Regions from separate parts of the Homo sapiens genome. Here all the other regions are linked to region 1. The links are contacts of gene promoters, found by promoter capture Hi-C in blood cells and fetal thymus (Javierre and others, 2016). All regions are on one chromosome and are shown on one strand. The core of a region is centred on a gene start or on the middle of the fragment in contact, and the rest is flanking DNA. Distances in the headings are between cores, read along the strand shown. Region 1 holds the start of UBE2U (ubiquitin conjugating enzyme E2 U). Region 2 overlaps EFCAB7 (EF-hand calcium binding domain 7). Region 3 has its middle 15 kb from the start of PGM1. Region 4 overlaps PGM1 (phosphoglucomutase 1). Region 5 overlaps PGM1 (phosphoglucomutase 1). Region 6 overlaps PGM1 (phosphoglucomutase 1). Region 7 overlaps PGM1 (phosphoglucomutase 1).

What was found. Contacts are between HindIII fragments. The CHiCAGO score rates a contact against its expected background, and 5 or more counts as called.
Region 2: a fragment that was not itself captured here is called in contact with the fragment with the promoter of UBE2U in region 1 in 1 of 17 cell types (M1 macrophages); the score reaches 5.9 in M1 macrophages.
Region 3: a contact is called between a fragment that was not itself captured here and the fragment with the promoter of UBE2U in region 1, in 2 of 17 cell types (M0 macrophages and fetal thymus). The highest score is 8.1, in M0 macrophages.
Region 4: a contact is called between a fragment that was not itself captured here and the fragment with the promoter of UBE2U in region 1, in 1 of 17 cell types (M0 macrophages). The highest score is 5.6, in M0 macrophages.
Region 5: a contact is called between a fragment that was not itself captured here and the fragment with the promoter of UBE2U in region 1, in 7 of 17 cell types (endothelial precursors, M2 macrophages, fetal thymus and 4 more). The highest score is 8.5, in endothelial precursors.
Region 6: a fragment that was not itself captured here is called in contact with the fragment with the promoter of UBE2U in region 1 in 9 of 17 cell types (M1 macrophages, megakaryocytes, M0 macrophages and 6 more); the score reaches 7.7 in M1 macrophages.
Region 7: a fragment that was not itself captured here is called in contact with the fragment with the promoter of UBE2U in region 1 in 4 of 17 cell types (M0 macrophages, M1 macrophages, total CD8 T cells and 1 more); the score reaches 5.8 in M0 macrophages.

Annotation. Positions count from the first base shown.
Region 1 is chr1:64,201,884-64,205,975 of GRCh38, reverse strand. UBE2U (ubiquitin conjugating enzyme E2 U) reads right to left here and starts at 2,353. Exons shown (of 10, transcript NM_001366232.2): 1 at 1,860-2,353; 2 at 256-337. The coding sequence starts at 1,925. The HindIII fragment of the contact is 16,836 bases long and covers 1-4,092 here.
Region 2 is chr1:63,557,112-63,561,203 of GRCh38, reverse strand. It overlaps EFCAB7 (EF-hand calcium binding domain 7), which reads right to left. Exons shown (of 14, transcript NM_032437.4): 10 at 3,957-4,090. Among named protein-coding and RNA genes, the nearest start is that of PGM1, 34 kb to the left of the region's middle. The HindIII fragment of the contact is 768 bases long and covers 2,459-3,226 here.
Region 3 is chr1:63,575,967-63,580,058 of GRCh38, reverse strand. It overlaps a transcript of EFCAB7 not described here. Among named protein-coding and RNA genes, the nearest start is that of PGM1, 15 kb to the left of the region's middle. The HindIII fragment of the contact is 1,635 bases long and covers 966-2,600 here.
Region 4 is chr1:63,595,098-63,599,189 of GRCh38, reverse strand. All of the region lies in intron 1 of PGM1 (phosphoglucomutase 1), which reads right to left. Among named protein-coding and RNA genes, the nearest start is that of PGM1, 3.7 kb to the right of the region's middle. The HindIII fragment of the contact is 894 bases long and covers 2,374-3,267 here.
Region 5 is chr1:63,610,527-63,614,618 of GRCh38, reverse strand. All of the region lies in intron 1 of PGM1 (phosphoglucomutase 1), which reads right to left. Among named protein-coding and RNA genes, the nearest start is that of PGM1, 19 kb to the right of the region's middle. The HindIII fragment of the contact is 416 bases long and covers 1,533-1,948 here.
Region 6 is chr1:63,627,766-63,631,857 of GRCh38, reverse strand. It overlaps PGM1 (phosphoglucomutase 1), which reads right to left. Exons shown (of 11, transcript NM_002633.3): 2 at 2,271-2,433; 3 at 1,770-1,916; 4 at 76-201. Among named protein-coding and RNA genes, the nearest start is that of PGM1, 36 kb to the right of the region's middle. The HindIII fragment of the contact is 1,303 bases long and covers 1,654-2,956 here.
Region 7 is chr1:63,657,965-63,662,056 of GRCh38, reverse strand. PGM1 (phosphoglucomutase 1) reads right to left here. Exons shown (of 11, transcript NM_002633.3): 11 at 1,812-2,471. The coding sequence ends at 2,382. Among named protein-coding and RNA genes, the nearest start is that of PGM1, 67 kb to the right of the region's middle. The HindIII fragment of the contact is 965 bases long and covers 1,531-2,495 here.

The DNA.
Region 1 (4,092 bases), core at 1,104-3,603:
TAATAAAATTAAGATTTGGCATAAAGAAAAATACCCCAAATTTCCATCTATGTTGACACATGGCAAAAAAGTCATAAATAAAAAAAATGGGAATATTTTTAGAATTTTAGACAACTGGTATAATGCAAACTTATGCATATGAAGAAGAATTTCAGGAAATTTATATAATGCGACCTTATCCTACATAAAAAGAGGATGGGCTAATAATGGTATAAAGACTTTTTTAAAAAATAGATTGGTTTTGAAAATACAAACCCTGCCAAACTGAATTCTGTAGACCTTCAATTTCAACTTCCCATTCCATCATATCTTCACTTACAGGCTTAGCAGTGATACCCTTGAAGTTAAAAACAAAATTAAATCAGAAAAAACTTATTAAGTATTTATTGAAGTTTTGAAAATCATATACCAGGTCACACTGAATTCTAAAAACTCTAAATTTTCTTTCCTTGATAAGTTTATTTATTTGCTGCTCTGGGGAAGTGTTACATGTCTTATTTCACGGAAGTTAATATAGATCCCAGAAAACATATGCAATAGTAATTAAAAATAAATCATAAGTGTGGAAATCACAAGTGGGACTAGAGAGTCAAGATTAGAATGTGTGGCTTATATACTGTTTGTGTAAATCAATAACCAATTTAATATTCAAATTTTAAAAGAAAGAAATAGTTGGAAAGTGCATGTTTCTTCAAAACATTTTAGAGCTATATGAATGCTATATGAAAGGCATGAAGTGGGAACATTTTCATTAAGAAAAAATCCAAAATTACACTTGTATATAAAAGCAAAGTTTTCCTATACTTGAGGAGTTGTTCCAATGGAGGGACAAGAATGTATTTCATAGAAAACCTTATGAATTACGTTAAGTAACACACTTACAAACACATAAAAACACTTCTGAGCATCCACATAGTTATTAAGTATGTTAGTGCTTGTCTGGGTGAGCCCTGTCTCTCTATTATCTATATTTACATATTCCTTCATTGGATTCTCTTTCAACAGAGAACTACAGAGCTCAGGATGAGCAGAAACAATATCAAATGTTAGGTCCATGCCCCAGGAATGTTCGCTGTTGGACTCCATAATTGTTCCTAACATCTCCAGTGAATGCAGTACTTTTATAGCAGAGGTAAAAAATGAACAATGCCACTGAACTACACCTGAAGCAACTGTGGGAAGCACTCTATACCTTTCATGGACAGCTTTCTTTCTGTTCTTTCTCTTAAGCACTCCCTCTTCGCCCCCTCTTCCATTTTTCATTTTCCGTAAATCAGCCTGTGGCAGCCATGGACATTGATAACCTCATTGGTGGCGTTTAAGCCCAAGGACATTGCTTCTTTTGTGTTAAAACTATAAAGGGAAGGCATTTATGTGTCATGCTGGTAAAAGTACACTAGACAGTAAGCAGTGGAACACAGGAATTAAGAACTAGGGCTTTGAAGTCCAAAAACCCTGTAATGGAATCATGGGGCAAAATCTTTACAGAATATTTCTGAGGCTTAGGTTTTTGGTAAGTAAAATGAAATACTACTTATTGTATAGTATTATAATTAATGAGCATAAGCCTGCACCTACTAGTCACTAACTACATGACAGACCCTGATATTCAGTGCCTAGATCCACATAAATTACTCTGCATAATATGTTCAATATTGTTAAGCATTATTATTTTGAAGTAATAATAATTGTTATTAATATGAAACACATTACTTCAGTGAAATGGATTTATTAAATAACAATACTGTAGTGGCAAATCAGGTTTAACTAAATTACTACTTATAGAATAAAATGGGTTAAACTGCCTCTTAAAAATTATTGCACAATGAAACACATCTCTCCACGTGCCCAGTACTTACCTTATAATTGTTCTCCTTGAGATCACAGAAGTCTCTGTGCAGCAAGAGGTAAGCTCTGCCGTGCATGATAGGCAGCGGAGGGTCTGACACTTGTCCCCAAATGCCTCAGGTTTACTCTGAGGCAGATGTTTGAAGTTATGGGTCACTTTCCCACACTTAGTAAACTGATATAAGTTACTTGCTTTCTAGAACCTCAGAACGGTACCAAGATAAGCGGCTTCTAAAGTTGGGATATAACAATGACTTTTTCTCCTGACTCCTCTAAACGAGAACTTCCCGAAGGAAGACTTGGGCACTTCCTCATCTGCGGCGTTTCACTGCAGTGCCGGCTCACAGCCCAGTCTCAAGACAAACTTGGATGAGTAACGGAGACAAGCCCATGTCGTCGGCGCGTGAGTGGGAGTGAGAGGTGTACGCCTATCAGGGTCCTAGCAGGTTGTCTTCGCTTCACAGGTGCAACCCCGCAGCCACGCACCGGAGGAAGCAAATCGGTTGCCAACCAACAGGCCCCCGTGGGGCCGCCGAGAGACGGAGGCAGGGGGTTGGCCGCTCTCACCCAATCAGCGACAGGGGGCAGGCCTCTTGCTATCTCCACAGCCAATCCTACAACAGTTTCCCCTTTGAAAGGCCAATGAGATTCGTGGTCAAGGCAACACCACGCCTTCTCAGGCCACGAACATGGACTGTACAAAACTAGTGTAGAGGATGGGGTGAGGTCCCAGGACCCAGCATGTAAGTCACAGAAGCCGTCCCACGAAGTCTTTCTTCGAAATTATCCTTCCTTTTTCTTTGACTATCAAAAGATATAGTAAGTGACTGGTAGGTACAGGTCTGCATAACAATATCTTAACTTACATGGCGAGTTACCATTCACAGTAGTGTGCATGCTATTATGTCATCAAACCCTACAATCACCCTGGGAAAGTGCTCCAGGAACAGGGAACTGCTTAAAATTTCTCTGATTCCCATCTCTTCCCGCACAGTTTCGCACCTGCTGTTCCTTCTACCTAGGAGTTTACCACATTCCTTCCACCCCTTCAGCCCTCATTTCCCCTTCACTCACTCATCCTTCAGATTTTAACGACTCTTTAAGGGATCCTTTCTTTTGTGATCCCACAGGACCTTCTATTTGCCTCCTAGTTAACATTTGCCATACGGCATCACAATTGTCTATTGTCTTCACCAGAGTGGGAACTACTGAAAGACACGGTTCCATTGCCAGCGCCAACTACAAAGCCTGGCATCTTTGTTCAGAATACTTTCTTTTTTTACTTTTTACTTACTAATTTTATAGAATCCGGATGTTCATTTAGTCCATTCATTTTACAAATATTTATTAAATACTTTTTTTTTACTTGAAAGATTCAAATGAAGTAAATGTCTTTATGGCTCCAATATACAATAAACAAGTATGCAAAACAAAAATCATGATTTCAGATGGTGATAAACGTTATGTGGACAATAATAAAACAGTACCATGATAGAGATTGGGGTAGGTCATTAAGGATTAGAAATGGTAGTCAGGAAATGCCTCTGTAAGGAATGGGGTTTTGAACTCATACATGAAAGATGAGAAGGAGCCTGCTACATGAAATATTGAGGGCAGAGAGTTCTAGGAAGAGGAAAACAAGATATTTTTGAGTCAGGAAAGAGCTTGTCTTGAAAAGGGAACAAGGGAAGGTCAGGGAGGTTGTGGAGGAGCCTGGGAGGGGTGTGATAAAGATGGGCACTATACAGTAGGAAGTTTGGGCTTTATTTGAATAGCTATGGGAATCCATTTAATGGGTTTAAACAGGAGAGTGTCATGCTCTGATTTATTTATTTATTTATTTATTTATTTATTTATTTTATTGATCATTCTTGGGTGTTTCTCGCAGAGGGGGATTTGGCAGGGTCATAGGACAATAGTGGAGGGAAGGTCAGCAGATAAACAAGTGAACAAAGGTCTCTGGTTTTCCTAGGCAGAGGACCCTGTGGCCTTCCGCAGTGTTTGTGTCCCTGGGTACTTAAGATTAGGGAGTGGTGATGACTCTTAACGAGCATGCTGCCTTCAAGCATCTGTTTAACAAAGCACATCTTGCACCGCCCTTAATCCATTTAACCCTGAGTGGACACAGCACATGTTTCAGAGAGCACAGGGTTGGGGGTAAGGTCACAGATCAACAGGATCCCAAGGCAAAAGAATTTTTCTTAGTACAGAACAAAATGAAAAGTCTCCCATGTCTACTTCTAT
Region 2 (4,092 bases), core at 1,593-4,092, 650 kb after region 1:
ATTGTCCCCAAGTCTTGAAAGACTGACAGATAATGGGGAGCACTTTGGAATCCATGAATCAACTACATTTTCCCAGGTAAGTCTATGCCTGTTTTAACACTATTTATGAGCAAAACTAAATTTACCTAGAAGTATCTAGACATGCATAATTCCTGAATTTGTCTGTAACATGGATAATAAGTCGTTATTTATTATGGATATTTTGTTAGCTATCCTACAACAGGGAAGATTTTATTTCCTAACTTCCATCTATAATATATCCAAGGGAAATGGGTAGTCTTATTTGAGATGGCATCTCTTTTGTGTGCATTATTGTGAGAAAAGCAGCAGAGACATAACTGTGTAAAACCGGTTGACTGATTAATAGCTTAAAACATTTAGAAGCCGGGCACGGTGGCTCACGCCTGTAATCCCAGCACTTTGGGAGGCCAAGGCAGGTGGATAGCCTGAGCTCAGGAGTTCAAGACCAGCCTGGCCAACATGGTGAAACCCCATCTCTACTAAAAATACAAAAAATAAAATTAGCCCGGCATGCTGGCATGCACCTGTAGTCCCAGCCACTTGGGAGGCTGAGGCAGAGAATCACTTGAACCTGGGAGGCGGAGGTTGCAGTGAGCTGAGATCGTGCCACTGTACTACAGCCTGGGTGACAGAGTGAGACTCAGTCTCAAAAAAAAAAAAAAAAAAAAAAGTTAAGAGTTTAAAGTTATTCATAACTTTTTCAAGGGGAAAAAATAAATGCAGATTAAATTCAATCATGAAGAGAAATGGTAGCCACAAAAATCGAGGTTAGAGCTACTATGTAGAAACGATGAAAAAAATATTTGACATATAATACAAATACATTAAGAAACCTATCTAGATACTGTACTATAGAGACTATCAAAAACGAATCTACTTTTTAAAACTTAAAATTCTCAATCCTCATTAATTTTTAAAAAATTAACACTTGGGCCAGGCGCAGTGGCTCACGCCTGTAATCCCAGCACTTTGGGAGGCTGAGGCGGGCAGATCATGAGGTCAGGAGATCGAGACCATCCTGGTTAACATGGTGAAACCCCATCTCTACTAAAAATACAAAAAATTAGCCGGGCGTGGTGGCGGGTACCTGTAGTCCCAGCTACTCGGGAGGCTGAGGCAGAATGGCGTGAACCCGGGAGGTGAAGCTTGCAGTGAGCCAAGATCACGCCACTGCCCTCCAGCCTAGGCAACAGAGCAAGATTCCATCTCAAAAAAAAAAAAATTATTAACACTTGACTCCAAGACTTACTATAAAGCCACAGCAATCAAGACAGTGTGGTAATGGTGAAATAATGATGAATAGATCAATGGAACAGAATAGAGAGCCCAGAAATAGACCGACATAAATATATTCAACTGATATTTGACAAAGGAGCAAAGGCAATTCAATGGAGAAAGGATAGTCCTTTGTAAATGATATTGTAATGGTGGATACATGATGTTACATATTTGTCAAAACCCATAGAACTGTACAAGACAAGAGTGAACCCTCCAGGGGTTTGAGACCAGCCTGGGCAACATGGTGAAACTCATCTCAACAAAAAAATACAAAAATTAGCCAGGTGTGGTGGCACACACCTGTAGTCCTAGCTACTCAGGAGGCTAAGGTGAGAGGATCGCTTGAGCCTGGAGGCAGGGGTTGCAGTGAGTTGAGATTGCACCACTACACTCCGTCCTAGGCTAACAGTGACTCAAACAAACAAACAAAAAGACTGAACCTAATGTAAACTATGAACTTTAGTTAATGATTATGTATCAATAATTCACTCATCAATTGTAACAAAGGTATCATACAAATGCAAGATGTTAATAATAGGGAAAACTTGTGGGTGAGGAGGAATATATGGAAGATTTCTATTTTTTTTTTTTTTTTTTTTTTTTGAGACAGAGTCTCACTCTGTCACCCAGGCTGGAGTGCAGCAGCATGATTTTGGCTCACTGCAACCTCCACCTCCCAAGCTCAAGTGATTCTCCTGCCTCAGCCTCCCAAGTAGCTGGGATTATAGGTACCTGCCACCACACTTGGATAATTTTTGTATTTTTAGTACAAGTGGGGTTTCACCATGTTGGCCAAGCTGGTCTTGAATTAATGACCTCAAGTGATCCACCCACCTCAGCCTCCCAAAGTGCTGGGATTACAGGCCAATTTTTTTTTTTTTTTCTTTTTAAGAGACAATTTGCTCTGTTGTCCAGGCTGGTCTTGAAATCCTGGCCTCAAGTAATCCTACTGCCTTAGCCTTCCAGAGTGCTAGGATTATAGGCATGAGCCACAGCACCCAGCCTGTTTTTTCTGTAAACCTAAAATTGCTCTAAAAATAAAGTTTATTAGGAGGCAGTGCTTGCAGTGAGCCGAGATCACGCCACTGCACTCCAGCCTGGGCAACAGTGTGAGACTCCATCTCAAAAAAATAAATAAATAAATAAACAAAATAAAGCTTATTAATAAACAAAATAAAAATAAAGCATCTTTAAGTGTAAAAAAAGTTTATTAAAATAATCTTACAGATAAACAGTACATTTTCTTATTATTCAGGGGAAACATTAAAACCTTAAAAGCTCTCATTTCTTTGCAATATTATTAATGTTGGTAAAGTAGACATTCCTCCAAATCATTTTTCAAGTCAATAACTCTTGGAGACTTTTTGATAGCATTGAGTTCAAAGTTCTGGAGCCTATCTGTGAAACTTTCTTGCTGTGTAGCCTTGGTCAGGTTACTTAACCTCTAATTCTATTTCCTGATTTATAAAGTGAGAATAATAAAGTACTACTTCATAGAGTTGGTGTGTAGAAGTGCATAGATCAGCAGCTGGTACATGGTAGATGGTAAGCTATCAAAAAATGTTAACCGTCAACTCTGCCAATTCAATTAAAATTTTAAATTAGAATTTTACTTATCACAAACTTTACCATCAGAAAGCCACAAATTCACTCTTATGGAATGTTCTCTAGTGCCAATTAAAAGATTATATCATTAAAGTTACAAGATAATTACATCTTCCTATAGGTAATACTCTATTATGTATATTATGAATTTTATTAATCACAGTTTAATATTATAAATCAATATACATGTATTGCTGTTGATTATATTAACTTTCAGCTAAAATAGAAATACTGAAAGATTCCTTTATATAAATAATATACTTCTCTACCCTACTTGCTGTCTAGGTAAACAGACTCCCAACCTGGCTCACTTTGCCAAGCTTAGACCATTTTAAGACCCACATATAGCTATCCCAGTGAAAGCATACGTGAGTTAATCTCTCTTGACTGAATTCTGGTCTCCTCATACCTCTTGTTCTGTGATCTATAGTTGGCTATGGCTTTTTGGTTTTCCCTCGACCTTGGGGTCTTTGGCTTAAATATGCAAGTATGTCTTCCCAGACTCCTTCTAAGTGATAACTGACTTTGCCTCATTCTCAGTGATTTTCTTTGTCCATCTTGGCATTTTTGGCTTCAATATTTCCATAAATGGACTTTTTAAATTCAACTCAAATACGAAAAGCACTGAAGAATGTTTAACATGTATAATATAAGCAACTTCCTGGAAACCTTAATTTGTGAGTAAAACTCTAGCTTTTTGGCTTTTTGCTGCCCTCTCCTGGTCACAGTTTGTGGTTCTTGACCACTTCAGGCCCAGTGGTATCAAGCGCAAGGACAAGTTTTTTGTCTTCTAAACCCCGAAGAGTAGAGAATCAAAACTAAAATTATGATTAAGTAATTCACACTTTCTTTTAACTTGAGTATTATACCAACTATCGGTTTAAGAAAAATAAATGTTTAAGTTTTTATGATCTACAAACAATACTACTTTCAAACTGTCCTAAATGCTATAATAATATTTCATGCAGAAGTTTGACTTCTCATTTCTTAGAGATGAAAAGGTGCTATATATATATTTTTATACATCTGTTAAGGAAAAGAAAAGTGCTTACCTCTGCAGACAGCCCAAGCATCTTCATCACATTTCTCACCACTTGTTCTCAATTCAAAAAAATTATATTCTTCAAGGCTAAGAAGACCATTTCCATCTAAATCAATTACTTCAAATATATCTGATAAAGTAGACCT
Region 3 (4,092 bases), core at 534-3,033, 630 kb after region 1:
CTTTCACTCTCTATACGATCCAGTTAAGAGAACAAAAAGACTATCTACAGAAGAGAAGAAAATACTTTCAAATAACATATCCAATAAAAGGCATATCCAGAATTTATAAAGAATCAAATGGTAAGAAAATGAAACTCAAAACTCAACAGTAAGAAAACAAATAACCTAATTTCAAATGGGCAAAAGGCTTGAAGAAGCACACCATCAAAAAGTATACTATGTATGCAGATGACAAGCCTATGAAAAGTTGTTCAACATCATTAGCCATTAGGGAAATACAAACTAAAATCACAATGAGATACCACTGCACATCTATTATAATGGCTAAAATAAAAAACGCAGACAATACCGAGTACTGATAAGGTTGCAGAATAACTGGAATTCTCCTACATTGCTGCTGGAAGTGCAAAATGGTACAGCCAATCTGGAAAACACTTTGGCGGTTTCTTAAAAAGTCAAACATATATTTACCATATGATCCAGCAGTACTACCTGTGGGTATCTACTATAGAGGAATAAAAACTTATGTTCATGTAAAAATCTGTAGATGAACTTTATAGCAGTTCTATTAATAGTTACCAAAAACTGGAAACCACCCAGCAGATGAATGCATAAACTGTAATACAATCATATAATAAAATACTACTCAGCAATAAAGGGAACTATTGATACATACAATTTGGATGATTGTCAAAGGCATTATGCTGAATAAAAGGATTCAGTCTCAAAAGGTTACATACTGCATGATTCCACTTATACAACATTCTCAAAAACAAAACTATAGTGATGAGAATAGAATAGTGGTTTCCAGGGGATAGGAGTATGCACAGGGGTAAGGTCATGGGGATGTGACTATAAGAAATAACGTGAGGGAGTTTTTTAGTGATGGGACTGCTCTGTATCCTGATTGTGGTGGTGGTTATATGAATCTATACATGTGTTACATTAATAGAACTGTGAAAGCTTCCCCCCAACCCACCAAAAAAGGGTCAAATTTACTGTATGATTTTTTTTTTATCTGAAATAAAAACCCCACAGGAAAAAAGTACTCGTTTTAAAATAGAAGTTCAAGAAGTAGAACAGTTTCTTCTGGGCTGAGAAAAAAATTAAAGGTTTCATGAAGGATGAGGTATTTAAAAAATGTATGTTACAGGTACAGACTGTAATACTTGTTCACAATCTGTCTTCTCTGATAGACTATGTATAATGAGGGCAGGAGCAGCGTCTGGCTTGTTCACCTCTATATAAGCAATAATTAAAGCAGTACTTTGCACACATTAGGGACTCAATTTATATATGATTGATCTATTGCTTGTGAGGCCGGGCGCAGTGGCTCACGCCTGTAATCCCAGCACTTTGGGAGGCCGAGGCGGGCAGATCACGAGGTCAGGAAATCGAGACCGTCCTGGCTAACACGGTAAAACCCCATCTCTACTAAAAGTACAAAAAATTAGCCGGGCGTGGTGGTGGGCGCCTGTAGTCCCAGCTACTCGGGAGGCTGAGGCAGGAGAACAGTGTTAACCCGGGAGGCGGAGCTTGCAGTGAGCTGAGATTGCGCCACTGCACTCCAGCCTGGATGACAGAGCGAGACTGTCTCAAAAAAAAAAAAAAATGTATGTTAGAGGTACAGCCTGTAATACTTGTTCACAATCTATCTTCTCTGACAGACTATATATAATGAGGGCAGGAGCAATGTCTGGCTTGTTCACCTCTATATAAGCAATAATTAAAGCAGTACTTTGCACACATTAGGGACTCAATTTATATATGATTGATCTATTGCTTATGATATTAATAGGCAAAGATACAATAACATTCTAGGAAAAGTGAAAAACATTAGAAAATACCTTAAATTTTCATTTCCTCTCCTCTTTCTAAATCCCTCCTATCTCTTCAAGGTCACTTAAAGTTCAGTTACAGAATCAGGTTCCCCTGATTCTTCCAGCCCACATTCATTTTTCCAACTTGTCCAAACTTGCTCTAACACTGTCAAACTTAATCTAACATTTTAGTGTAGTACTACTTAGTATTTTAAAGACTATGCCTCATTTCCTTTAATAGTTATTAAAATGTGTCCTCTTTTTATATTATTTAAATTTTAAAATACATTATATTACATGAGTAAAAACAAATCAAAGCACTACTTAGCTTCAAACTAAACTTCATTCCTTCAGTCCTCCAACAGATTTTCATCTACTTTCATCTACATCCTCTAAATTGGTCAAGCCTTCCCCTCCTCTTCTGTTTCCATATTCACATCATTAGTTTAATGCTTAATGACTGGCATTTATTAAGATTTAATATTATTCCCTAACAGGTTAACATGTAACTCATTTCCTTAGCTTTCTTGTCCTGAGGACAGAGATGACACCTACTACTTATTTATTTTAACTAATTAATATGTAATAGATACATGCTAATTGGATGTCCCTGTGTACTATTCCCTAGCCTAGTCTACTCCTATTTTTACTTCTCTACTAAGAAAAAACTTTTTTTTCAAAAGCCAATTCTGGATACTTTTGTAATGGATATTTAAAAAGGCAGAGAGAAATTTACTTTTTAGTAATTCCGCATACTATATCAGAAATTGCCAGAAAGCTTACAATACTGGCATTCTGGAACGATTTCATTTTCATAACATGCTGACATTAGCCTGAATCAGATAACTGAACTTAAGCTGGCCTTGAATTTAACTTGCTTACTCTTGTATTCAATTGGAAAGGTAAGAATACAATTAAGAATATGTATTAAATGTTGAATATTTATCAACTGTGTCTAAAAGAAGTTGAAAAATATTTAATTTTTGAGAAATGGAACCATACTCCAACTCCTTTATCATATGTAAGTCTTTTTTGTTAAATATTCATATATATTTTTAGAAATGTATTGGGTGAAAAAAAAAAAGTACTCTTTTTTTTTTGAGTCTTACTCTGTCACCCAGGCTGGAGTCAGTGGCAGATCTCAGCTCACTGCAACCTCAGCCTCCTGGGTTCAAACGATTCTCCTGCCTTAGCCTCCCAAGTAGCTGGAACTACAGATGCACACCACCACACCTGGCTGATTTTTGTATTTTTAGTACAGATGGGGTTTCACCATATTGGCCAGGCTGGTTCGAACTCCTGATTTTGTGATCCGCCTGCCTCGGCCTCTCAAAATGCTGGGATTACAGGCATGAGACACAGCACCCGGCCAAGAGCACTTATTATTATTTATTTATTTATTTGAGACAGAGTCTCTCTCTGTCACCCAGGCTGGAGTGCAGTGGGGTGATCTCAGCTCACTGCAAACTCTGCCTCCCGGGTTCAAGTGATTCTCCTGCCTCAGCCTCCCGAGTAGCTGGGATTATTACAGATGCCCGCCACCACGCCCAGCTAATTTTTTTTTTTTTAATTTTATTTTTAGTAGAGACGGGGCTTTCACCAGGTTGGCCAGGCTGGTCTCGAACTCCTGACCTCAGGTGATCCACCCACCTCAGCCTCCCAAAGTGCTGGGATTACAGGCGTGAGCCACTGCACCTGGACAAGAGTACTTATTATTAAAGTACTTTGTTATTTTTTGTTTTTTTGTTGTTGTTGTTTTTGAGACAGTCTCACTCATGTCGCCCGGGCTGGAATGCAATGATGCGATCTCAGCTCACTGAAACCTCTGCCTCCAGGGTTCAAGCGATTCTCCTGCCTCAGTCTCCCAAGTAGCTGGGATTACAGGCGTCCGCCAGCACACCTAGCTAATTTTTATATTTTTAGTAGAGACAGAGTTTCACCATGTTGGCCAGGCTGGTCTCGAACTCCTGACCTCAGGTGATCTGCCAGCCTCGGCCTCCCAAGTGCTGAGATGACAGGCGTGAGCCACCGTGTCAGGCCTACCCCTCAGACTTTCAATAATGATTCCTAGAGTTCCTGGCTCACACATTACCTCACCACATGAATCTCATCTATATCCTCTGAATCAGGTCCACTATTTGCTTTATTTTTCCTCAAATCATTACAGTTCTTTTTTCCCCCAGAAATTAAGCTAGGCTGAGCATCAAAGATAGGCTTTATAAGACTACGTAAAGATAGCAGGGCTAACTTTGAATGCTCTTAAACTTGCAAA
Region 4 (4,092 bases), core at 1,571-4,070, 610 kb after region 1:
GTGTCTCAAAAAAAAAAGTGACTTGAAGGTGTTTCTCTGCCAAGTCATCCCTGCCCCAGGGATATAAGGTTTAAAGTTAAAGTAGCAAGGTGTCTCCACCTAACTCCAACTACCCAAGAGTCTCAAAACCTTCCCCTTCCTGCTCAGTGTTCTTTTATTTCCTTTTCAAGAAATGTGAACTGCTATAGCCAGAAACATGTTCCTTCAGCAGTGTTTGCAGATGGATCTCATGAAAGTTCAGAAAAGGGTGGTTCACTTCAAGCGGGAGACAGTGGAGTTCCTCCACTATAAGGCGAAGTTTGCAAAGTCCCACTAGTTTGCTCTGAGAACATGAGACCCTTAACCTCTGGGTCATGTGTTTGAGGTCCATTTTGGTGCAGGCATCACCTGATGCTAAAAAAGGATCATTGTTTAGTGTGGGGTTCTTAACTTGGGATGCTTACATCCCCTTCCCCTACCTCAAGAGGTCCTTGGGTAGAATTCAATGGGATCCATGAATATGAATGACAAAATAAACAAAACAATCTTTATTTTCACTAACATCTAACTGAAATTTAGCACCTCCTTTTATTATAAATGTAGGAAGCAAACCACAGTATTATTACTACTACTGCTACTATTACTACTACTACCTAGGAATTTATCATCAATAAAAATTATATTTTCATATCCTATTATAGTTATCTCAAAATACTGAGATTGCAGACGTCTCAAAACATCATTTATACTCACCACTACTTTGAAGTAAGGCAGTATTAAATCCTCCACAAATCTTCCTATGTCAGTAAAGAAGCATTATCTTGATATATCACAAATCTGGTTTTTTAATATTTTGATTATACTTCAATATAATTTTGCTTCCTTTGTAATGGTTTGTATTTTGTTTTATTCACTTAAAAATAAAAATACTCTGCCCGGCACGATGGCTCACACTTGTAATCCCAGCACTTTGGGAGGCAAGGCCGAGGCAGGCAGATCGCTTGAGCCCATGAGTTCGAGATCAGCCTGGGCAACTTGGTGAAACCCCATCTCTACAAAAAATATAAAACAATTAGCCAGGCATGGTGGCATGCACCTGTAGACCCCAGCTACTTAGGAGGCTGAGGTGGGAGAATCAACTGAACCTGGGGAGACTGAGGCTGCAGTAAGCCACGATCGCGCTACTGTGCTGCAGTCTGGGCAACAGAGTAAGACCATGTCTCAAATTTTTAAAAATATATATTCTGAGAAGGGGCTCCACAGTTTGCACAAATGAGTAGCAAAGGAGCCGTGACAAAAGAATCCCTGTAACTTGACAACAACAACAACAACAAATACCCTCCTTGCTCATAAGTTCCCACAAAGGTATTTATTTTATTTTGCTTAGGGTGGTGATAAATCATCCTTCAAAACATGCACACATTCATTTGTGAGCTTAAACTCTCCTCAATTTCTGATGCTGGTCATTTGCAGATCATTAGACCCAGAAGTGATTTTTAGAGACCAGGAATAGTTTCAACTAAAGAATTCGTTGGGATTCTCTTGGACTTTTCAGTAACATGGGCCAATAAAATTCCTTTTTCACTTGGAGTAATCCAAGTAAGGTTTTTGTCATTTGTACCCAATTGGGCTCTGACTAACACGGAACCCCTCTATATTGGTTGAGGCTGTTGAGGATTAGAGGAAGGTGGGAGACCATCTGGGTGGCTCATATCTGCATCACGTTGGATTGTGTCCTAATACCAACAAAACATTGATAACACACCTATCATTCGAACAGTTTCCAAGTGAGGTACTTGTAAATATGTTGTTTCATCTAATCCTCACAACAGGCTCTTCAGGTATGTATTATTCCCAACCTTTGTGGATGAAACAAAAAAGGACTAGAAATTTGTATTTGTATCTAATCTAAACTCCCTCAATTTGTATTCATTCTGCTAAGAATTCCTCCTACCAGACAAACCCACTCTGGGAACTCCAAGTCATTCTTTAAGACTCAATTCGGCTACCACCCCTCTATGGAGCCTCCCTCCCTTCATCTTCCCCTCCCAAGTACAGCCCCTCAGGTTAAAGACACCTGCACATCCCTCCATCACAACACCTGACACATTGTGCTGTCTGCTTACTCCTGTATACCACCCCTCCCAGACTATGTCTTTCCCAAGGGCAAAAATATTTTGTATCTCAAGTACAATGTCTGAGGCAAAGCAAGCACATAATAAATGTTTGATGTGAATAAATTTATTGGTCACCAGCTACATGCTGGCTTTAAATCAAGTGCTAGAATACAAAAGTGACTCACAGTTCAGAGCAAATAAACAAGAATTCATTGAATGCTACATAGTCCTAGGCATTGCAGATACAGGTAAAACACAGGTCTGACTTAAAGAAGCTTACTCTCTAGTTGGAGGCCGTTGACATGTAAACGGAAAATTTCACTAGAATTTAATATATATATTCTAGAATTATCTATGGGAAAGGAGCACTTAATAGGTGGAGAAGAGTGGTAGGGATGGGGTGTCAAGAAAGGTTTCTGAAGATGCCATCTGGACTGAATCATATCACAAGAGAAAGAGTAGCATATTTAAATCCCGAGTGAGTAGAGAGAGTGAACAAAATCAGAGAACAACCTGAGCGTAGAAACCTAGGGAATAGGCCAGGCGCAGTGGCTCACGCCTGTAATCCCAGCACCTTGGGAGGCCGAGGAGGGTGGATCACCTGAGATCAGAAGTTCGAGACCAGCCTGGCCAAGATGGTGAAACCTCATCTCTACTAAAAATATAAAAATTAGCCAGGTGTGGTGGTGCATGCCTGTCATCCCAGCTACTCAGGAGGCTAAGGCAGGCGAATTGCTTGAACCTGGGAGGCAGAGGTTGCAGTGAGCTGATTGCGCCACTGCACTCCAGCCTAGGCGACAGAGTAAGACTCCGTCTCAAAAAAAAAAAAAAAAAAAAAAGAAGAAGAAAAAAGAAAGAAAGAAAGAAGAAAGAAACCTAGGGGATAGTCAATGTGCAGCCCATGAAGGAACTTCCAAAAAGTGTGAGTAGAATCAGGAGAGTAAGCAAGGCCAAGGGAGGAAGAACTTTACAAGAGTACAAAATCAGCACTGCCAAATGCAGCAGAAAGGCCAAATAAGATTAGACCAGAGTGTATTCCATGAATTTAGCAACTGGCAAGTCCCTAGTAACTTTGGCAAGAGCAATTCTACTGGAGTAGTGGAGGGGGCAGAAGCAGTGAAATGGCGAGTAAACCGGAGGTGAGAATGAGAAATAGTGAATGCAGAAAGCTTTTACAAAGGTTGGCTGAGAGAAGAGCAATAGGGCAATGGCTAAAGGGTGATGAAGTTTTAAGAACTTTTTTTTTTAGTCTTAACTAATTCTTTCCTTCCCACCCCACACTACTCCCAAATGGACAAATTTCCATCTGGGCACCTAAAATTCCCACTCTGCTGTAAGCTCCTTAAGGACAACTCTTGGGTCTGCATCATCCTTTTAGTCCACACATTTCTCTGAACATGGTATTCAACAGGATCTGTTGAATGACTGACTGAATAAATGAATGAATGAATGAAATGCAAATTCAGCACAGGTGGTAACAGGGAAATGATCTACTGGGATACAGCTATTGTCTGTTCTTCTTTCATGGGAATTTGCGCTTGTCTGAAAATTCAGGACCACAAAGTAAACAAATCCAGGCAATCTTCTCTCACTGATGCTTATAAATGTTTGGCCCAGGAAGGCAGATGTAGATAGAGCCCAGTTTAGATTTTGGAGCCTGGAAAACAGATCTTCAAGATCAAGGGCTGTTCATTCTTCATTCTCAGGAGCTGTTCAAGTTCTTGGGATTGGCAGATCTATATTGGACTCTTAGTGCTGCCATTATAGTTTTTGTAAATTATTTAACCTACCTAAGCTTCAGCGTCCTCGTTGGCAACTTGAAGATACCCATAATAGCATCTACCTTATAGGGCTGCAGGAGGATAAATGAGACCCAGAAATGAAGCGCTTACCATAGTGCTTGGCAAATAGTACTCAATGTCAACAAAATAAGATAAATAAAGTACTATTAAAATGAATAAAAATATCCATTTCAGGGGATGCGTTCCAGAAGAAT
Region 5 (4,092 bases), core at 491-2,990, 590 kb after region 1:
CCAGGTCATACGCAGTCTGTCTCCAGAGCCCAGACATGTAACTATCATGCTACCTTGCCTTGTAATGTAATATGCAGCCAGGTGAACAGCAAAGACTCAATAAACAAGAGCTTTTAAAGCATGTGGGTAAATGTGGGCATCTGTGGGAATTCCTTAGATGGGCAGTGGCTCATGGGGGCAGCAGCAAGGCATTCTCTCTTGGCCTCAATCAAGGCTTCAGTGAGAGCAAGGCTTTAGGGATATAAAAAGTTGGACTTTCCTTAAAAAGTTTAGGAACCCCTAGACTGTAGCGCTACATAACTATTAAAAAGGGTCTTGAGGAATAGAGCACAGTGGAAATCCAGGTTCAAATTCCAACTCTTGATACTTTTTAGTATCTTGGAGATCTTGGGCGAATCACTTAGCTTCTATTTCTGCATCTGTAAAACAGAAGTCTAAATACCAATCAATTAAGAGTTGTTGAAAAGACTATATGAGATCATGTAAAGTGCTCAGCACAGTGAATATCATTACATGTAGGTTTTCATGCAGGCTTAATAACAACTCAGTGGTGTAGGTATTCTCACTATTCCCATTTTACTGATAAGGAAACTGAGGATTAAAGAAGTTACACGAGTTGCTCCAGGACTCACAATAAATTGGAAAGGCAGGCTTCAACACCAGTTTTAAAGCCAAAGCTCACGTTTCTCATCATTGGGCTATGTATGGCTCCTTTGGATGATCAAATTTGTTTAAACTTGAAGAAAATTAAGAGGAAATAGATCCCAAGTGACTCCCAAAGGGCTACTGCCCAAGTGCAAAGTATATGTGCTTTGGTGTCTGTACAAAACCCACCTGCATTTGGTGGACAGAGTATAGATGTCATGGTTGAATGGTGCACTACTCCCGCCCCCTCCAAAAAAAAAAAAAAAAAAAGATACATTGAAGTCTTAACCCAGGAACCTGGGGATGTGACCTTATTTGGAAATAGGGTCTTTGCAGATGTAATCAAGTTACAATGAGAGCATACTGGATTAGGGTGGCCCTAAATTCAATGACAGGATTTAGGAGAGGGAAATTTGGAGACAGAGACAGAAGAGATACATAGGGAAGAATGCCACGTGAAGACAGAGGTAGAGATTGAAGTTACACTGCACCAGGGATTGCTAGCCACCACCAGAAGCTAGGAAGAGGCAAGGAAAGAGTCTCCCCTAGAGCCTTCAGAGGGAGCATGGTCCTGCTGTCACCTCGATTTCAGACTTCTAAGCTGCCAGAAGTGCAAGAGAATAAATATCCATTGTTTTAAGCCACACAGTTTGTTACAGCAGATAGCAGCCCTAGGAAACTGCTAAGTGCTTAAAAAAAAAAAAAAAAAAAAAAGATAAGCCAACTCCTTTTGCAGCAGAGTGGCTGGTCTGAGTGACAGGCAGTCTGGGTAGACTATTCCTCTACCCTGCCCCCCAACCCCCTACACCTTTTCTTTGCCTCAGAGTGTTTGGTTTCTAGCATTAAGTAACCCTGCATGGGCCATGCTCCATATACACAAACAAGCTTCCTCCTTTGCTCTGTGGTATGGAGAGACTGCATCTCACTCATTTTTAACCTCAGTACCTGGAATGGGGTTGGGCACATACAGATAGTCAATAAATGTGTGAGTGACTAAAATATTTAAGTGAGAGCATCAAACGACCCCTGTAATTAGTGTTTCTGAGCAAGGAGGCGAGTTTTCAGGCAGGAGTCAGGAGTGGTTTCCCTTCCTGAGACCAACCTCAAATAGAAAATTACTCCCCTAATCACAGACAACTTCCCAAAGCACAAGGTGTCTACAACAGAGGGCACTCTGCCTGGAACTGGCATTCCAAGTAGTTGCAATAGCACAAAGTCTTGTGCAACAATTACGAACAGAACTAGAAACTGCAATAGTGAAGGAAGTAGAGCCAGTTAGTCTGCATGGTTGAGGCTGAAAGCTTATAATTGCTTCCCAGGATAACTGCAGGCAGAGTGATGAAGGAGGGGTCTTCATGGCGCTACTCAACATGAGGTAGAAAAGTGGTGAGAGTAAGAGAGAAAAAGAGATGAATGCAAGCGAGAAAAAGAGGGTCCCAGCTGACCTAGCATCCCAGCCCCTTTCCTAATATTAGAGCAGTAGGATACAACACAACCACACTGTATGTCAAAATTTTTTTTGCGTCTATAAATGTATAATTTAACTTAGTGAACTATATATCAATCATTCTACGTATGGGTTCAGGCCAGTTGACCCAAGTTAGAAGGCCTGTCCCAGTGAAGACAGTAGGTCACATGCAGATGGTGTCACGTGTCACGTAACCTGCTGGTTAAAGAAAGAGAGTCAGAGCAAACTGATAGAGCCTTTTTTTTTTTGAGACAGAGTTTCGCTCTTGTTCCCCAGGCTGGAGTGCAATGGTGTGATCTCGGCTCACTGCAACCTCTGCCTCCCAGGTTCAAACGATTCTCCTGCCTCAGCCTCCCAAGTAGCTGGGATTACAGGCACGCGCCACCATGCCCGGCTAATTTTTGTATTTTTAGTAGAGATGGGGCTTCACCATGTTGGCCAGGCTGGTCTCGAACTTCTGACCTAAAGTGATCCACCCACCTTGGCTTCCCAAAGTGCTAGGATTACAGGCCAGGCGTGAGCCACCACGTCCAGCTCCTGATAGCCTTAATATGTTACTGGGCAAATACTTCAACCCAATCCTCCTTACAAATAGCATTTTCTGAGAAGGAGTCTCGCTCTGTTGCCAGGTTGGAGTGCAGTGGTGCAATCTCGGCTCACTGCAACCTCCACCTCCCCTGGTTCAAGCGATTCTCCTGCCTCAGCCTCCCGAATAGCTGGGACTACAGGCATGTGCCACCACACCCAGCTAATTTTTGTATTTTTAGTAAAGACAGGGTTTCACCATGTTGCCCAGGATGGTCTTGATCTCTTGACCTTGTGATCTGCCTGCCTTGGCCTCCCAAAGTGCTGGGATTACAGGTGAGAGCCACTGCGCCCGGCCTACAGATAGCTTTTTAGGTTTTTGATCCTGTCTCCAAAATCCTCCCTTCCCTCAGGGCCATAAGAGAATTCCCAGGCTGGGCCTTAGGATAATTCCCAGACTGGGTCTTATGTTGGCCTGTGTATAAAAGAAAGCCTCAGGGGTTAAGGACCTGTGTGACCTCAGGGGTTAAGGCAGCTGAGTCACCGGCGGCCTCCCTCTTCCCTTCCTGCAATGCTGGAGTTAGGATGAGTCCTACTTTACAGTCTAAGGCTGTGCTTTTACTTTCTACAAGGATCTCCTTGTTTTGCAAGGGCTGCTCCCACTACACAGAATGTCTTCTTCATACCCCCATGTCTACACTTTTTCCTGGCTTCCTCTTTATCATCCTTCAGGACTTGGCTTAAACACATCTCCCCTGGGAAGCTTCCTCTGACCACCCCTGCGTGTTCCCCTCCCTAGGGCCCCCAATACACCCTAACGAGGCACTTCTCACACTATATTGCAATGCCCACTTGCGGAGACCGTTTTATGCACTACTGCATGCCCCAAATACACAGCACTGTATTAAGCAATAAGAAAACATTCAGTAAATGTTTCAGGGATGGAAAGCACCCCATCAAATCTTATTCACGGAGATTTCTGGAGCAAGTGGACCTAATCAACTATTCACCAGAACCACTATCCTAAAACCATAAGGGGTAGACCTGGCATACAAACACCAAACACCGTAACCAGTACTTAAGCTACTCAGGATCAATTTTGCTTACTTTGGGGCTGGCTGCTGTGTTCTTTTGAGAAAACTTAAGTATCAGGCTGACGACATATTACTGAAAACCTAAAGTTATACAGAACAGTTCTCCCTCCCCCCAGGCTCTGTGCATGAAACACTCTCTGTAAGAAAGATATTTCTGTTCTGAAATTTATAAGCTAATAGGTGTAGAGCATCTTGACAGGTCATTGGCAAATCTGGGAAGAAGAGAAGTTAAAATGAGGGGGTAATGGCCGGGAAACCTTTTGCAAGAAGTTTAAAGTGTCTGTATTTCCCATCAAAACCCCCAACATATTAATTTCACAAATGAGTAAAGAAGCAGCTCAAGCAATTTGCCCAAGATTA
Region 6 (4,092 bases), core at 1,056-3,555, 570 kb after region 1:
AGCATCATGATACACACAGAAGAGGGCAACTTCCTATCCTCAAGAGATGGGAATTGAAAAGAAATGATTGTATACCTCCATGCATAGCATCAATACGGATCTTCAGTCGGTTTGGCCCAGAAAGTAGTTCTTTCAGTGCACTGAAATCAAAGATGCTTCTCAGCATTGTAGCATAAGCTTCTACCGAATCCACAATTTCCACTGTGAGAACAAGCAACATCAAAAGATGGAAGGATTAAACACATTTAGAAATATTATATTCTGATGTGACTATATTGCTGTAAACCTGCTATTGCTATTTTAAAAGGACAATTATTGAACAGCTCCAATAATACGGCTGTTAAGTGATATCCGATACTATCTAATACTACCAATCCTTACCCAATACTAACAATTTTCCTGAGAGGTAAATGTTATTAGTCCTATTTGATAGATGAGGAAACTCGACGTGTGAAGGGTTAAGAAACTTGCCCACACAGCTTGGATGAGGCACACAGGGGATTTTCAACAGAGGTTGTATAAATTCTGCTATGCCACCACAGTGCTTCCCCATTCGTCATCTTGAGAGGTGTGTTTTGGTGTTATAGAGAGTAGAAAATGTAATCCCCACTTTTCTTTCCTTTTCTTTTTCCAAGTCCATTGTCATCAAGACTTAATGGTACTAAGTGGAAAATGAAATTTTTTAATGAATCACTTTTCACAGGTACTGCTTAAGGAATAAAACAAAAATAAAACTTATATAAATATAAGAACTTAGTATTGTTGTTCTTGTTGGATGTTCAAGGCTTCTGAACATTTTCAAAACTGCTGGATATTCAGGGGTTCTGAACATTTTCAAAATATGAAGAATTTAAGAAACTCCCTACTGGAATCTTCTGAACCTCAAGAATGTCTTCGAGATGACCAAAGTGTCACTTTATCTTTGTTAGGATGCAATTGTCAGCTCTCCCTGAGTAGGTTCAAACAAAAAAATGCAATCCATCCTTTAGCCAGGAACTAAATGACTAATAAAATGCATTCCATAAAGTTGCAATCCAGAAGAAAGAAAACATGTTAGGGCAAAGTCAAAATGCAAGTTCATTGCCAATCATCTCATCCTCATTTTATTAATCTGAATACTTTTATAAATATTTATTCTGTCAATTATTACAATAATTCAACAACAAAATGTTAGCCACAGCTGCCTATGTAGGGAGTTGCAATTTGGTCCCCCCAAAATAGTCTGATTGATTTTACTGAATGAGGAAAACTAAAATGGAAAGTGTAGTCTTGCGAATCATTCAAACCTGAGTTGAAATCTTCGTTTTGCCATTCACTGACTGTGACCTTGAGCCTGTTACTTAATCTCTCTCAGCCTTTGTTTCCTCATCTATAATAGTGAATGCTGACAGTGCTGCCCTGACAGATCTACTGTGAGAATAAAATGGATTAACACGTGTAAAGACCTTGGCATGTAGCAAGAGGTCAATAAAAGTTAACTATGAATGTAATCCTGCAGGTCTTCTAGTCAAGGCATGAAAACTGAGGCCTAGAGTGCTGGAAATGACTTACTCGATGTCATGCAGCTGATCCCTGGCAGGGCCCAGGGAGCCCAGGTCTCTGGTCTCCCAAACCTAATTCCAGACTTGTTAATTAACTAACACTTGCAAAGCTTACAGAGCACTCACGGAAATCTTTCCAAAGCTGAAGACCCTCTACTAAAACGTTGAAAGGAAAATCGCTCAACTTGGAAATAGGAGTGGGCAGAAAGAGGAGGAAAGTAAACATGCCTGTGAAGGGTTTGAACTTATTTTCCAAGTCAAACTGCTGCTTTCCCAGAACACCAAGGTCTACTTTCAGGTCAGGGCAAACTGCATATTCTTCAATTGTCTTGCTGATTTGGAAAATTTTATCAGTTATTGCTTCTGGAGCAGGACCTGGAAACCAAACAGCAAACAGTGGGTTACTTCGTGCAGCTCACATGGAAATACAAAGAATCCAAAGCTCATCAGTTCCTCTTCACTAGCACATCTACCATTTCATCATTCAGTCAGCAAAGTAGCAGGATTTTTCTAAAAGAAAATATCATGTTAAGGAAGATTTGCGCATGGCTCTTCATATTCAGGTACAGTCAAATGAGAAGCATTTCACTGTCACTGAAAGGAAGCAAAGAGCACCTCCCTACCCCCTGCAAAGGATCAGAACCAAAACCCTGGTCTCCCAAGGCTCCAGGTATTGATTTGTCCTACTGAATGTAAACTTACCTGTCCTCAAAATGACAGCAAACTCACCTCCATTAGAAATATTGAATTTGATTCCAAAATCTCCATTGGGGCCCCCTGGGTTGTGACTGGCTGTCAGAATGATCCCACCAATGGCTTTGATTTTTCTAATGATGCAGGATACAGCAGGGGTGGAGAGGATTCCATTCTGTCCGATAACCAAGCGACCGATCTAGGAGAAGAAATCCAGAACACACTCTTTAACATCAATACATCCAGAGTCACCGCTCAGAAACAACACCAAGACAACAGGCAGATGGACAAAAAAATAATAGTAATAATCTGTTGGACAAGAAAAGATTTTATTTAATAAAAATCTGCAGCTTGGATGTCTCCACCATATTACTGAAATAGAATCAGCAATGTTGAACAAATTCCTTCAGATGGTTTTCGGGACTTTGTAGTTTTAGAAGTGTGTGGTCTGTGTGCACTGTAAGGCTCCAGCATGAAAACACAGCATATTAAAAAGAGCCTTTCCAGATCGGGGCCACAATTTGGATGCATTGAAAGAATATGAGAAAACCCACATTTTTATCCAATTCAATCATACTTTCAATCCACAACGGGAGAAAAGAAAAGGTTTAGCTAATTAAAGGGATTCTACCCAAAGAGAAGGCTTTTTTAAAGTAAAAAGGGCAAATTTTATATCAAGATTATTGAAAAATGACTCATCAATTTATCTTTCCAGTCAAGCTTGGCTTTTTCATATAGTGGGTTTCCTCAAAGCAAGACACACCTACTTCTGTTACAGTGTACCTGGGTTACCTCCTGGGCCTAAGACAAGAATGCTGGAGTTATTCCTGAGTAAACCAGTCAGAATGACCTACATGAAAGGGCGACAGATGGGACTTCTGTTGCATTCTTAACTTACCTTCCCATATCTCTTACAGATGGTATCAGTACTGCTCCTAAATCTTTTTTGCTAAAATGACAGTAATTTATATCTGTTTCAACATGACTCAAGTTGGAAAAGAAGGTTGAGGTGCTGTCAGTTCCTCTTAAAAAACAGGGATTTTTTTACATTTTCCATTTGTTATTTCTTTTTGCTTCACCCAAGATAAACATGATTGAAGAAACAACTTGATGGTGGAAGATGTGTTTCTAGTGTTGAAAATGTCCGTGAGATACCTGGATTCCCTGGGGAGAGTTTCTCTGGGACTGTTGGCTCTGCCACCCTTCCATAGCCCATTGAAAACCGTCAACCACTCCACTACCAACCACCTCCCAAGGAGCACCTGGTTCCCTTCAGTTACCTCTTGGCTCTCATATGTCAATCTCCGAACAATTTTTGTTGTAGCTCCCCTAATATATTGGTTATATCCTGCCTTCCCCAGGAAATGGTAACCACCAGGGTGGATGCTGTCAGTAGGCTGCTTTTTAGACTACAGGAACCTGCAGATAGTGTGAAATCAAAACCGATGATTGTTACTGAGCTACAGAGTGCTTTCTACATCCCATGGTACTTTTGATCCATTCCCACATTTGCTCTTCCCAAGTACCACTGCAAACATGAAGAAGCTGAGGTCCAGAGTTATCATGATCCTGCCCATTCATTCATTCTTGCCTCCATCCAGCAGCAATAATAACAAGCATTAATGGAAAGGTACTATGGCAGACACTGGCGTAGATGACACGACAAGGCCACACAGCACATTAGCGGCCATGGTGGGGGAAAGTATTGAAACGTCCTGACTCAACACAGTGACATTTCACCTTCCAGCAGTTTCCAGGTGTGGTTGTGATGAGAATAAAAGCCTATGTTCGGGCAGTTCCAGAATGTCCATAGGAGGGGTTTAGGGGTGGCTTGTCGAGTTGTATTTACACACCAAGC
Region 7 (4,092 bases), core at 764-3,263, 540 kb after region 1:
GCAGAAAAGGGTCAGGAAACATGAACGATACTTAGGGTCAGAATTCCAGTTCCATCACACGGTAGCTGAGAACCTGGGGCAAATTAATGAGCTTCTGTTGAGCTTCAGTTGCCTCAACTGGAAAGCGAGAAGAATGATGTCTTGCTTCGAGGGTTACTGGAAAGCATCTAGCCCAACATCTGAGATAGAATAGGTGCTTGGAGAATATGTAGGTTTTACCTACACAACTCATAACATTTATCCCATACAGTTTCTACTTGTGCTAGATTCGATTCCCCTGGCAAGTCTTACAGGCAGCTTGATGGCATGGGCTCTGTGTTATACAGCTCTTCCTCCCAAGCACCTCACACTTAATGTGGATCAATACATATTTCCGGGCTGACTGATACATCCAGATATCCAGATCTCTGCAGGAGCTAATATAATGCCAAAATAACAGATTCTTTGGCATCCAGAGCACACAGTATCCCCCTTTAATGCGTAAAGCACAGGGGCATTTGCACACCTTTCTTCCACGTTAGGTGTAGCCTAGAAGTAGACAGTCCGTAGAAGAAATCTGAAGTGGTTTGAACCCTGTAGGGCTGGAGCTGCACTGTCTGGGAGCATCTACCACTCCCCAGCAGTGTGATCTTGGTTGAGTAACTGAACCTCATCTGTAAAATGGGAATATTCAGAGTACCTACCTCAGAGTTGTCAGGAAGATTTAAAGAATATATGGAAAGCGCTCAGAAAGAATATATGGAAAGTGCCTGGCAAGGGGTTAACGTTCCAGACAAACTCATCACCACCACCACCATCATTGTCATCATTGTCAAAGCATAGTTTTGTTTGCTGAGCTGGCAACAATGGAAATCTTACCCCAGATAAAGATCCTGCCACCTGTATCAGGGAGTCCATACTGAGTAGGGGAGGGGTACAGAGCTGGGCTGACTTTTTAGAATAGCCCATATGGCAAGGTGACTTTGTGAAAGTACCTTGGAAATGTAAAATGTGTTACAAATATTAGTGTTACAGTTTTTGTTTTTCCTGTATATACAGTACTTTAAAATCTAAAAATGGTATCATAAACATAATTCTAGTTTTCACTTATTTAACAATGTACCATGCACTAGATACTGTGCTCACTGCTTTACACAAATGTACTCACTTAAGGTACTCAACAATTCATAAAGGTAGAACTACTTTCATCCCCACTTTAAGGATAGGGTAATGATATTCAAAAGTCACTCAGGGTCTCAAGTGGGATTCAAACTTGGGTCTGTTGGCTCTCAAGTCTACGCTTATTTAACTATAATATACTCATGGATGGAATATAAGTGTTCTGAGCTGAATAAGATGCCAGTGGGCTCAGATTTTTGGCCAAATGTCAGTAACCCTGCTCTCAGATTCTGAGGGTTCTGCCTCCATCCCTTCAATAAGCGTCAAGGCATCTCCGCACTGCAGAGCACGTACCAGTGCTTTGCTATTTAAGCACTAGGAAGAGGAAAATCACTCTTCCTTTCCCTTGTTCCAAGTTAACCATGTCAAGCTTGATTTGTCTACCTTGGAAGAATCCAGAGCTCAGTTGACCCTGCTAAGATTTTAAATTACAATTCTCTTAAAATTTATGTTACTTTTTAGAATATTCAGGACAATAAAAAAAATTACAGTTCTTGAGTCTAAGGATTTGCAACCTAGCCTAGAGACCATTTCATTTTCTGACTAGGACATGAAAACAAAATACAATACTCCCCTCCTTCTAAAAAAAAAATTGTTTTTCTTTCTAAAATCAAAAAAGTACTTTGCAGTTAAGAAAAAAAGACGACAAGCAATTGTAGCTTATTTTCCTTTATTATCCCAAAATATCTGTGTGAATGGGACAATGTCGCAAAACAAGGCAGAAATCTGTAGCCAAGTACGTCTCACTCAGAGGAAAGAACTGATTGGACAGAAGGCACTAGAAATTGCATTTTGTTGGGTTACATGTAAACAGGAAATGGGGGGAAAGATTCACAAAAGAGAAAGGAACTTGCACCATCATTTCATTGCCACATCCTAAGGATGAAGAATGGCCTCACTCACTGCTGATGCTCCACCTATAGCTTACATTGTAGTGTAAACTGTACCTGATGGCTAAGGAGACAAATACCCACGCAGCAGCAATGCAGGAGGGCATGAAAAGGAATTGAGATTGATCTAAGCCCGCAGGTCCTCTTTCCCTCACAGCTCCCAAGGGCATCTTGTTTGGCAGTGCCTTGTAAATGCACTGCTCGTCAACTGGTTAGTGAAAAAGTCAAATCCTAAAATGCTTGGTGAATACATTTTGTTTCTGTCATGCTCTTCAATCAGATGACTTGGATGGGTCCGGGGGTGGAGGGACGTACCACATCAGGCCTGTCTTCTTAGGTGATGACAGTGGGTGCAGTGCGTCCCGTCCTCTCCTGCAGCTGGGACACTTTCAGAGCAATGGAAATAAGGGGGGCCAACATGACCTGAGGAAGACATAGAGAGAAGCTTTTCCATCACTTCCTCTAAACACAGATGCTTAGCTCCAAACCCGTACGTCTGACTGCCTACTTCCAGGTCTCCAAGGCTCCTCAAACTCCACAAATCCAAAAACAAACACATGTTATTTCCCCCAATACCTAGTTCCAGCAGTTTCTATTTCAGTGGATCAACACTACAGTCTTTCATGTAAAGTGAACAACTAGGAGTTGCTCCTGACATCTTCCTCTGCATTTTCCCCATGCCCAGTCCATGAGCAGGCCTCAATGACTTTTCCCCGCTAAATCTCTCTCCATGGCCCCCTTTTCTCTCCACTCTCCTGCTGTTAAGTCTTGCTAAGTCAATGTCCTGTCTCTTACCTGGAGCAGTGAGTGCCTCCACATCCACTTGTGCATCTTCCAATTTCTTTCCCACACTGTTCCCAATGGGACTGATGTGGTTTGGCTCTGTGTCCCCACTCAAATCTCATCTTGTAGCTCCCATAATTCCCAAGTGTTGTGGGAGGGACCCGGTGGGAGATGATTGAATCATGGGGGTGGGTCTTTTCTGTGCTGTTCTCATGATAGTGAATGGGTCTCATGAGATCTAATGGTTTTAAAAACAGGAGTTTCCCTGCACAATTTCTCTCTTTTGCCTGCTGCCATTCATGTAAGACATGACTTGCTCTTTCTTGCCTTCCACCATGATTGTGAGGCTTCCCCAGCCACGTGAAGTGTAAGTCCAATTAAACCTCTTTCTTTTGTAAATTGCCCAGTCTCAGGTATGTCTTTATCAGCAGTGTGAAAACAGACTAATACAGGAATCTTTTTTTTTTTTTTTTGAGATGGAGTTTCACTCTTGTTGCCCAGGCTGGAGTGCAATGCTGCGATCTTGGCTCACCACAATCTCTGGCTCCCAGGTTCAAGCAATTCTCCTGCCTCAGCCTCTCTAGTGACTGGGATTACAGGCATGCGCCACCACGCCCGGCTAATTTTGTATTTTTAGTAGAGATGGGGTTTCTCCATGTTGGTCAGGCTGGTCTTGAACTCCCGACCTCAGGTGATCTGCCTGCCTTGGCCTCCCAAAGTGTTGGGATTACAGGCGTGAGCCACCGCACCCGGCCTAATACAGGAATCTTTAAAAATGCAACAACCCCTCCCCACATCTACTTCTCGCTTAAAGAAAAAAAAAAAAAAGAGAGAATTCTGTTGCTTAATAAATGCTTTCAATATTAAAAAAAAAAAAAAACTACTAATCTGGTTGAACTGCCCATTTTACAGATGAGAAAACTGATACCCAAAGAGATGAAGTGATTTGACTAAATGACTCAATAGCAGAGCCAGGAGTAGTACATTTTCTACTGCTGAATGCTACTTTTTCTTATCTAAATCTCCACCGATCCATTATACCTGGAAAAGGAGAATCAACTCCACCTGCTGAAACTACCACATTTCCCCTTAGGGCTTGGGCAGTCCCCACAAAGTGCTGATGGCCTAGCAGCTGCAGAATAAGGAAAGGCAGCTCCCCGGCTAGATGGTGATACACCTGGGCATTGTGGGAACCTCACACCATCCACTGCCATTCCACCTGCTGAGGACTATGGTTCAGAGGAAACAAATTTCATTCACT